2 separate regions of the Homo sapiens genome follow, and region 1 is linked to region 2. The links are contacts of gene promoters, found by promoter capture Hi-C in human tissues and cell types (Jung and others, 2019). All regions are on one chromosome and are shown on one strand. The core of a region is centred on a gene start or on the middle of the fragment in contact, and the rest is flanking DNA. Distances in the headings are between cores, read along the strand shown. Region 1 overlaps ZSCAN29 (zinc finger and SCAN domain containing 29). Region 2 holds the start of EPB42 (erythrocyte membrane protein band 4.2).

Evidence for each region. Contacts are between HindIII fragments. The study calls those that stand out against the background at their distance.
Region 1: a fragment that was not itself captured here is called in contact with the fragment with the promoter of EPB42 in region 2 in 1 of the 25 tissues and cell types used here (pancreas).

Annotation. Positions count from the first base shown.
Region 1 is chr15:43,362,905-43,367,426 of GRCh38, reverse strand. ZSCAN29 (zinc finger and SCAN domain containing 29) reads left to right here. Exons shown (of 6, transcript NM_001372080.1): 4 at 619-1,317; 5 at 3,045-3,512. Among named protein-coding and RNA genes, the nearest start is that of ZSCAN29, 5.9 kb to the left of the region's middle. The HindIII fragment of the contact is 3,910 bases long and covers 87-3,996 here.
Region 2 is chr15:43,219,239-43,223,561 of GRCh38, reverse strand. EPB42 (erythrocyte membrane protein band 4.2) reads left to right here and starts at 2,544. Exons shown (of 13, transcript NM_001114134.2): 1 at 2,544-2,746. The coding sequence starts at 2,737. The HindIII fragment of the contact is 9,374 bases long and covers 1-4,323 here.

The sequences.
Region 1 (4,522 bases), core at 792-3,291, 140 kb before region 2:
TCTGAAGGGAAGAGTCTGACAGGAATGGGTATGGTAGGCACTAAGGTTAAGGTTCACCAGGGTAGCATGTGCACTGGCAAGCAAGAGCCTGCGGTTAGGTAGAACAGTGACTGCTGCAATTATCTGGGTGTGAGAGGATAAGTAGTCTGGACTTGGATGGTGGCAGTAGGAATAGAGAGGAAGGACTACTAAGGTGAACACCTTTAGAACCTGGTGACTGACTGTGAAGGAAACGGATAAGGTAAAGACAATCTTCTCTCGCTTCCCCCTTGAAATCACGCCGAGTTTAATTCTGTAGCCCCAAGTGAAGAACAATTATTCCCAGCAGTACTAGGACCTGCCTACAAATAGGAGAGCTTGGAATAGAATTATCTGCTCTGAACACACAACAGAATCCTTTCCTCTCTTGTCACCCTGCTCTGGAAAATAAAACATTTCTCATCTTTTGAGGTTTCCTGTATTTTCCCCACCTTTTTCAGCCCACTGAACTTTCTGAAAACATTTCCCTAGACACTTTGTTTATAATCCTCTTGGATGAAAAAGGCAGGACTGAATTTCAAGATTTTTGTGATAATCAGTCCAAACTATGACAACTTTTGTTTGTTTCCCTGCAAGCAGGATTGCCATTTCCTAAATCCGGTGTGGTCTCCAGGTTGGAGCAAGGAGAGCCATGGATCCCAGATCTGCTGGGCTCTAAGGAGAAAGAACTTCCAAGTGGCAGCCACATAGGAGACAGACGAGTGCATGCTGATCTGTTACCATCCAAGAAAGATAGAAGAAGCTGGGTGGAACAGGATCACTGGAGCTTTGAAGATGAGAAGGTGGCAGGTGTGCACTGGGGCTATGAAGAGACCAGAACGCTCCTCGCAATTCTCAGCCAGACTGAGTTTTATGAGGCTCTCAGAAACTGCCATAGGAACAGCCAAGTGTATGGGGCTGTGGCTGAGCGGCTCAGGGAATATGGCTTCCTCCGGACCCTGGAACAGTGTCGGACCAAGTTCAAAGGTCTCCAGAAGAGCTATCGGAAAGTCAAGAGCGGCCACCCACCTGAGACCTGCCCCTTCTTTGAAGAGATGGAAGCCCTGATGAGTGCTCAGGTCATTGCCCTGCCCAGTAATGGCCTGGAAGCAGCAGCCTCTCACTCTGGCCTGGTAGGCAGCGATGCTGAGACTGAAGAGCCAGGGCAGAGGGGCTGGCAGCATGAGGAGGGAGCAGAAGAGGCTGTGGCTCAGGAGTCTGACAGTGATGACATGGATCTAGAGGCGACCCCCCAGGACCCCAACTCAGCTGCACCTGTTGTGTTCAGAAGCCCAGGTGGTAAGAAGCTTTTCTTCTTGGAGTTTTGGAATTAGACTTGGGGAACAAAGAGACTGGATGTGGAGTCAGAAGGCTTAATGTCACATGCCAGCTTTGCCACTTAGGGAACAAAGAAGTGCTTCTCCATTCTTTGTGTGTATTTCATTCTCTTTTATGGGAAAATCAGTGAGATAATTGGGAATACATTTAGATTTTTAGAAGAAATACACTCAGAAAATTCACAGTCCTGAGAAGGAGTATCATTCCTTCCATTTCTTTACTAAACTATTTTTTTCCCTGATTTTAAAATCATTGCAGCAGGCTCACTGAGAAAAATGTGGCACAATATTATCTTTAAGTAGAACCAGTGTTTATTGAGTATGTCATATGAACTTGATGTTTTACATATTTTATCTTTTACTTCCCCAAAGCTCAAAGTCAGTTTATTATATTCGTTTTTACTTAGAATAGTACAGTGAAGAATTGTCCAAAGTTGGGGAAACATTTTTTTCTTTAAAAATTTTAAAATATATTTAAACAGAGACAGGGTCTTGCTGTGTTGCCCAGGCTGGTCTCACTGGGTTCAAGCAGTCCTCCCACCTCAGCCTTCTGAGTAGTTAGGACTACAGGTGTGAGCCACCACACTGAGCTGGGAAACATCTAAGTTTCCTCTGAGATTCATAGTATACATTGGCATTTTAACAGGATTGAGAAGTCCTACAGTGAGAAAGCTTGTTTAACACTCTATTTAAATATTCTTGCCTATGGAATCCTTTTTAAAGTATCATTTACTACCATTAATGTAATCGGTACAACTATGCTGTTATGGAAAGAGCACCAAAGTATGACTCAGGAGGCTTAGATTCTAATCCTGATGACCACTAATAAACTGGGCGACCTTGAGCAGTTATCTAACCATTCTAAGCTTCCATTTCCTCAAGTGTAAAATGGGGCAAAGCAGGAGGACTACATCGCTAAAGTTGCAGTTCCTTTGTGAGCAGTGGTCTTTTCCTTCTGTTTTTTGTGACATGCATGATCTTATTTTAGTTCTGTTCTAGCTTTCTGGTCTTTGTGTCTTCTGCTTTTTCGTTTCTCTTTATTTTTCTTGTTTTCTTCATTCTCTTTTTCCTTTTTTGTTGCAGACACAAATATATGTAGGTTAATTAAATGTGGCACATGTGCTCAATGTTATTTTCATTATCATTGTTCTTTCACTTTTTTTTTTTTTTTTTTTTTTTGAGACAGAGTCGCTTTGTTGTCCAGGCTGGAGTGCAGTGGTGTGATCTCATCTCACTGCAACCTCCACCTCCCCAGTTCAAGCGATTCTCGATTCTCATGCCTCAGCCTCCCAAGTAGCTGGGACTATAGGTGCACACCACCACGCCTGGCTAATTTTTCTGTGTTTTTAGTAGAGACAGGCTTTCACCATGTTGTCCAGGCTGGTCTCAAACTCCTGGCCCCAAGCGATCCACAGGGATTACAGGCATAAGCCACTGTGCCTGGCCAGCTTCTTTTTTATATGGCTAAACAGAATTTGTAAATAAAGGTCTCTGTGAAATTGCTAAAGGATATAAAGAAGCAAAACATTCTATACTGAGTTTGTGGATTTTGGAAACATGAAGTATTTTTACTTTTTCATCTAGGAGCCTGAGCTTAGGTGAATTCTCATGATGCAGATGATAGGACTGAGGAATTCAGGCTCTAAAGCTCTGGATTAAGTGGTGCTGAAATTTCTCTTCTGGTGGCAGGTGTACACTGGGGCTATGAAGAGACCAAGACTTACCTTGCAATTCTTAGTGAGACCCAGTTTTATGAAGCCCTCCGGAACTGTCACCGCAACAGCCAGCTGTATGGAGCAGTGGCTGAGAGGTTATGGGAATATGGCTTTCTTAGGACCCCAGAACAGTGTCGGACCAAGTTTAAAAGCCTGCAAACCAGCTATCGGAAAGTTAAGAATGGCCAGGCACCAGAGACCTGTCCCTTCTTTGAAGAGATGGATGCTTTGGTGAGTGTCCGGGTTGCTGCCCCACCCAATGATGGCCAGGAAGAGACTGCTTCTTGCCCCGTCCAGGGGACCAGTGAGGCTGAAGCTCAGAAGCAAGCTGAGGAAGCAGACGAGGCCACAGAGGAAGATTCTGATGATGATGAAGAGGATACTGAGATACCCCCAGGGGCTGTCATAACCCGTGCTCCAGTGTTATTCCAAAGCCCCCGTGGTAAGATTATTTCACTATTATGGTATAAATAACAAAGGGAAGACAATGGGACTTAGGAAAAATATCATCTGATTGAGAACTGGCCTCTACACCCAGCTTTCATGGATTCTTCTTGTGACCACCCATATTTCTTGTCTATTAAAGCAGCTCACTGAGGGGATATAAATTATTTATGTGACTTGACTTCCCACACTAGAGCATCAATCTGAGATAGCTGCACATTGTAAATTTGCTGTGATTTATTCATGAACCACTAGGTTTCCAACCAGTTTACTAAGCAGGGAATCTGAAAGCTCACATTTCTCAAGTAGCATGTCACGTACCCACGGTAGGATGAAGTTGATTTTAAAAGTTCATTCTCTTTTATATGTCTTCTTCTAGTTTCAGCTCATATACCAGCTGTATGTCTGCTTTATTCACATTTATGAAAATCTGATAACTGTTGTTCACTTTTATGAATCTGAGGTTCCTGAGAGAACTGACCCTTTGAATCTTAGCTGCTAGATAAGAAAAAAATACTTCACAAGGGCTTCCATCCTTGTGAGAAGAGTTCTGATTTCAGAGTCATATATGTGTACGTATGTGAATCTGGGCTCTGTTGTTTATTAGTTAAGTGACTTAGAGAAGGTTACTTAAGGCTGGGCATGGTGGCACATGCCTGTAATCCCAGCATTTTGGGAGGCCGAGGCGGGCAGATCACCTGAGGTCGGGAGTTGGAAAGCAGCCTGACCAACACGGCGAAACCCCATCTCTATTAAAAATACAAAAAATTAGCCAGGGGTGGTAGCGCGCACCTGTAATCCCAGCTACTTGGGTGGCTGAGGCAGGAGAATCGCTTGAACCTGGGAGGCAGAGGTTGCAGTGAGCTGAGATCGTGCCATTGCACTCCTGCCTGGGCAACGAATGAAAAAAAAAAAAAAGTTACTTAACCCCCAAGTTTGCTTATATATTAAGACCTACCTCATAGGGTTGATGTAAATGAGGTACTGTGCACAGTGCCTGGCACATAG
Region 2 (4,323 bases), core at 1,295-3,794:
TCAGGGTGTTTTTATTTTGCATTTTTATTAAATGAGGCTGAACATCTTTCCATGGAATTGATAGACATTTTTATTTCCTTTTCTGTGAATTGTCTATCATATCCTTTACTCATTTTTCTAATAGTTTGTTATTCTTTTCTTATTGATTTATAGGCATCTTTTATATTAAGGAGATTAATCCTTCGTGATATGAGTTTCAAATATTTTACCCAACTTGTTGCATATCTTGTTTTGTTTTGTTTTTGAGACGGATTCTCACTCTGTGGCCCAGGCTGGAGCACAGTGGCCCAGTTTCAGCTCACCGCAACCTCCAACCTCCCGGGTTCAAGCTATTCTCCTGCCTCAGCCTCCCAAGTAGCTGGGATTACAGGCACATGCCACCACGCTCAGCTAATTTTTTGTATTTTTAGTAGACATGGGGTTTCACCAAGTTGGCCAGGCTGGTCTCAAACTCCTGACCTCGTGATCCACCCGCCTCGGCCTCCCAAAGTTCTGGGATTACAGGTGTGAGCCACCGTGCCCCATCTGCATATCTTTTAACATTGTGAATATTTCCATTTAAAAATTTTTAAGGAATCAAATTTCTCAGTATTTTCTTTTTGTCTTCTGAGTTTTGCATAATATTTTTAAAGGTTTTCCCAAGTTAACTTAAGAAGAAGTGTCTCATTTTTTCTTCTATTACTTTAAGAATTTAATAAGAGTTTTGATCCATCTGAAATTTATTTTGATGTGTGGCATAAGATAGGAAGCCAACTGTATTTTGACAAGCTAGTTGTCCCAAAATCATTTACTGATAAATCCTTCATTTCCCCATGGATTTGAAGTGCCACATTTAGCATACATTTAATACATGTATTTTGATCTATGGACTTTTCAATTACAGTAATATCATATTATGTGTTCATATCTAGGAAGGCTGGTCACACTTTATTATTATCTTAGAAATTTCCTTTTGAACCTTAGAATCAGTTTACCTAGTTTCAAAAAACAATCTTGGTGTTTTTATTGGGAATGAATTAAACTTAAGATCAACTTGGGAAGAAATGACCGCTTTATAAAGTTGAGTTGTCCTACACAGGATGGTGATCTTCCTTTTTATCTGCTCAAGTCTTATTTGGTGTCCCTCCATACCGTTTCCAAGTGTTTTACTGACAGCACTTCACATTTCTTAAGTTTATTTCTAGAAATTTCACCTTTTGTTGTTGTTGCTATTATAGGTTGGGTCTTTAATTACAGTTTCTGACTTGTTATTGATTGCAGGTATGAAAACTATTGGCTTCTATACTTTTGGTATTAGCCAGCTCACTAAATTACCTTTTATAATCATTGTTAGTAGATTCAAGTTTTCCAGGTAAAAAATGACATCTTCAAATAATGAAAAATTAACTTCTTCATTTCTTATGAAGGATTTTTTTTTTTTTTTCTGAGATGGAGTCTTGCTCCATGCTGGCTGTGCAGTGGCACGATCTTGGCTCACTGCAACCTCAGCCTCCCAGGTTCAAGCAATTCTTCTGCCTTAGCCTCCTGAGTAGCTGGGAGTACAGGCGCCTGCCACCACGCCCAGCTAATTTTTGTATTTTTAGTAGAGAGAGGGTTTCACCATATTGGCCAGGCTGGTCTCGAACTCCTGACCTCAGGTGATCCGCCTGACTTGGCTTCCCAAAGTGCTGGGATTACAGGCATGAGCCACTGCGCTAGTGAAAGGCAGAAGTTTCATTTTTTTTTTTTTTTTTTTTTTTTACATAATAAGATCCTTCAAATGAGTTCAAAAGTTCAAAGTTTTAAAAGTATAAAAGAGTAAACAGCAGAAAGATAACCTTTCTACCCCACTGCCCAGATCCCCTCCCCACAGGCAACCAATATTTTTGGCAGTGTGTTTTATATCATTCTATAGACGTCTCATGTATATGCAGCAAGTACAGCTGCCCTGAAAGTGCTTCTGGTAACACAGTTTCACAAGCCCAGGTAGGGCCAAATATGAGATCCTTCTCTTGTCTCTTCAGGAACTAAAGAAAGAAAAATTGAAAAGACATAGGGCCTGAGTCCCAAGATAGTTCCCAACCTTCTCTGGTAGAGGGTCCCAGACCAGGTAGGCTTGGAAGAGTTGGGGCCCCAGCTTCTACTTTTAATACATTTATTTTTCACCAACAAATTCTACTTCCTTATCTTTTTCACACAGATAAATTGCAGATGCACGTGTTCTCTCTATTATCAAAACAGCCCATGAACATCTTGCAACTTGCAGCCCCTGTCACGTTTAGGGCCTGAGATTTGGAGTTGGATATGGGACTCCTGTTTGTGGCCTCCTCTCTTCCAGAGTCTTCCAGTGCAGTCCAGATAACATCTCTGAGAGTCTCTTGAGACCACTGAAGCAAGAGGCTTCAAGGTTTGTTCTAGGCTTCTCTAGTTGGCAGGTCTTCCCCATCCCACCCCCTCCCCCAGGGCTGCCAGGCGTATTCCTGCCTGGGCCTCCTGGCACAAGAGATAAAATGAACAGGGTTACTCCCAGTAACTGGTCCAGGAGATACCAGCAGAGAGGGAGTAGGAGAGAAGAAACATGTCAGGGTGCTCACAGGAGTAGTGGGGGGAGGTTTTGCTATTTCCAGATTCTTAAGCCAACAAAAGTGCCTTCATATTTTCTGTCTGGAAGACAGAAAGCCCAGAAGGAGCCCAGAAGCAACAGTTTGAGAGAGGCGCTTTCTGCGGCCAAGTGGATAAGAGGAGCGGCCTGCAACCATGGGACAGGGTGAGCCAAGCCAGCGCTCGACAGGGCTTGCTGGACTGTATGCAGCCCCCGCAGCATCACCTGTTTTCATTAAAGGAAGTGGGATGGATGGTAGGCGGGGAGATGGTGGTATAACTATGGTGGGGGAGGGGGTACTGGTGATAATGAGGTGGCTGTGGGGGGGGGGTGTGGTAGGTGGGTGCTGGTAGAGGTGATAGTGAGCTGGCTGTGGAGCGTGGTGTGATGATGGGTGCTGGTGGAGGCGGAGGCGGAGGTGATGGTGATGTTGCTGTGGGGTGGTTATGGGGTAGCATGTTGGGGTAAACTGGTCATGATAGTTGTATGATGGTGAGATGGTGATGGTGGTTAACATGGATTTATATTCTTATCCCAAGGTCATCATAGCATAAGTGTTCACAGCTTACTGATACAAATGAGAGACACCCTGGGTAGCATGAAGGTGTCACAGCTTCTACACCAAATGGGAGAGAAGGAGAGGAGGGAGTCAGGGAATCCACCTAAAAGGGGCAGAGGCAGACACAAAGCAAGAAACCAACACAGGTGGTCAGAGTCGCAGCACTCTTGGCAGGAATTATTATATCCTGGCCTGGGAATTGCCTGGCTGTTTTGTGTCCTGGGAGAAGCAAGCGGGTAGGCAGAGGGAAATGGTGCAGAGGTGTGGGGACAGTGGGGTGCAGCTGTGGTTCTGTTGCTATAGAAACTGCCTCACTCCCCTGCCCTGGTTGGTCTGGTGTGCGGAGGGCAACTGACGCTGAGACCAACAGCTGAGAAGGGAAGAAAAAGAACTCTGGGTGAATTAAGTCAATAATCTCAGCCACGTCTTGTGAAAATAGGGCAGACACCAATAAATTGTCCTTTTTTTTTTTTTTTTTAAACGGAGTCTCTCTCTGTCACCAGGCTAGAGTTCAGTGGCGCAATCTCGGCTCACTGCAACCTCCGCCTCCTGGGTTCAAGTGATTCTCCTGCCTCAGCCTTCTGAGTAGCTGGGACTACAGGCACCCACCACCATGCCCGGCTAATTTTTTGTATTTTTAGTAGAGACGGAGTTTCACCTTGTTGGCCAGGATGGTCTCGATCTCTTGACCTCGTGATCCTCCGCCTCGGCCTCCCAAAGTTCTGGGATTACAGGCGTGAGCCACTGCGCCTGGCCAAATCGTTCTTTTTATTCTGTAGAGACCAGACAAATTAAAATCTACTCAATCAGAGAAACACAAAGATATCAGGAGATTGTTTAGTCTAGTCCCAAACCAGAGGATGCCCCTGGGCACTAAATTCTTTCCAGGCAGTGGGTGGCAGAGGGCCCAGTAGCCACCAGATGAGAATCACTGAGTATGAACTCATGACATGCTGCAGTGGCTGGAGCTGGCTTGTGCTGACTTGCAAGAGCCAATTGCTAAATTTTGAGGAACCTTGTGAACCAGTTCTTAAACACAGGCATTATTAAAAATTAAATTGTATAAACTTACAAGTAAAAAATTTATATTAAAAAGAAAGATAATAAGTACTCTAAACTCATCACTTCCTACGTATTTTACTCCTTTTTACCTTTATGTTCTTGAGGGCGTTTATGTCTCCTG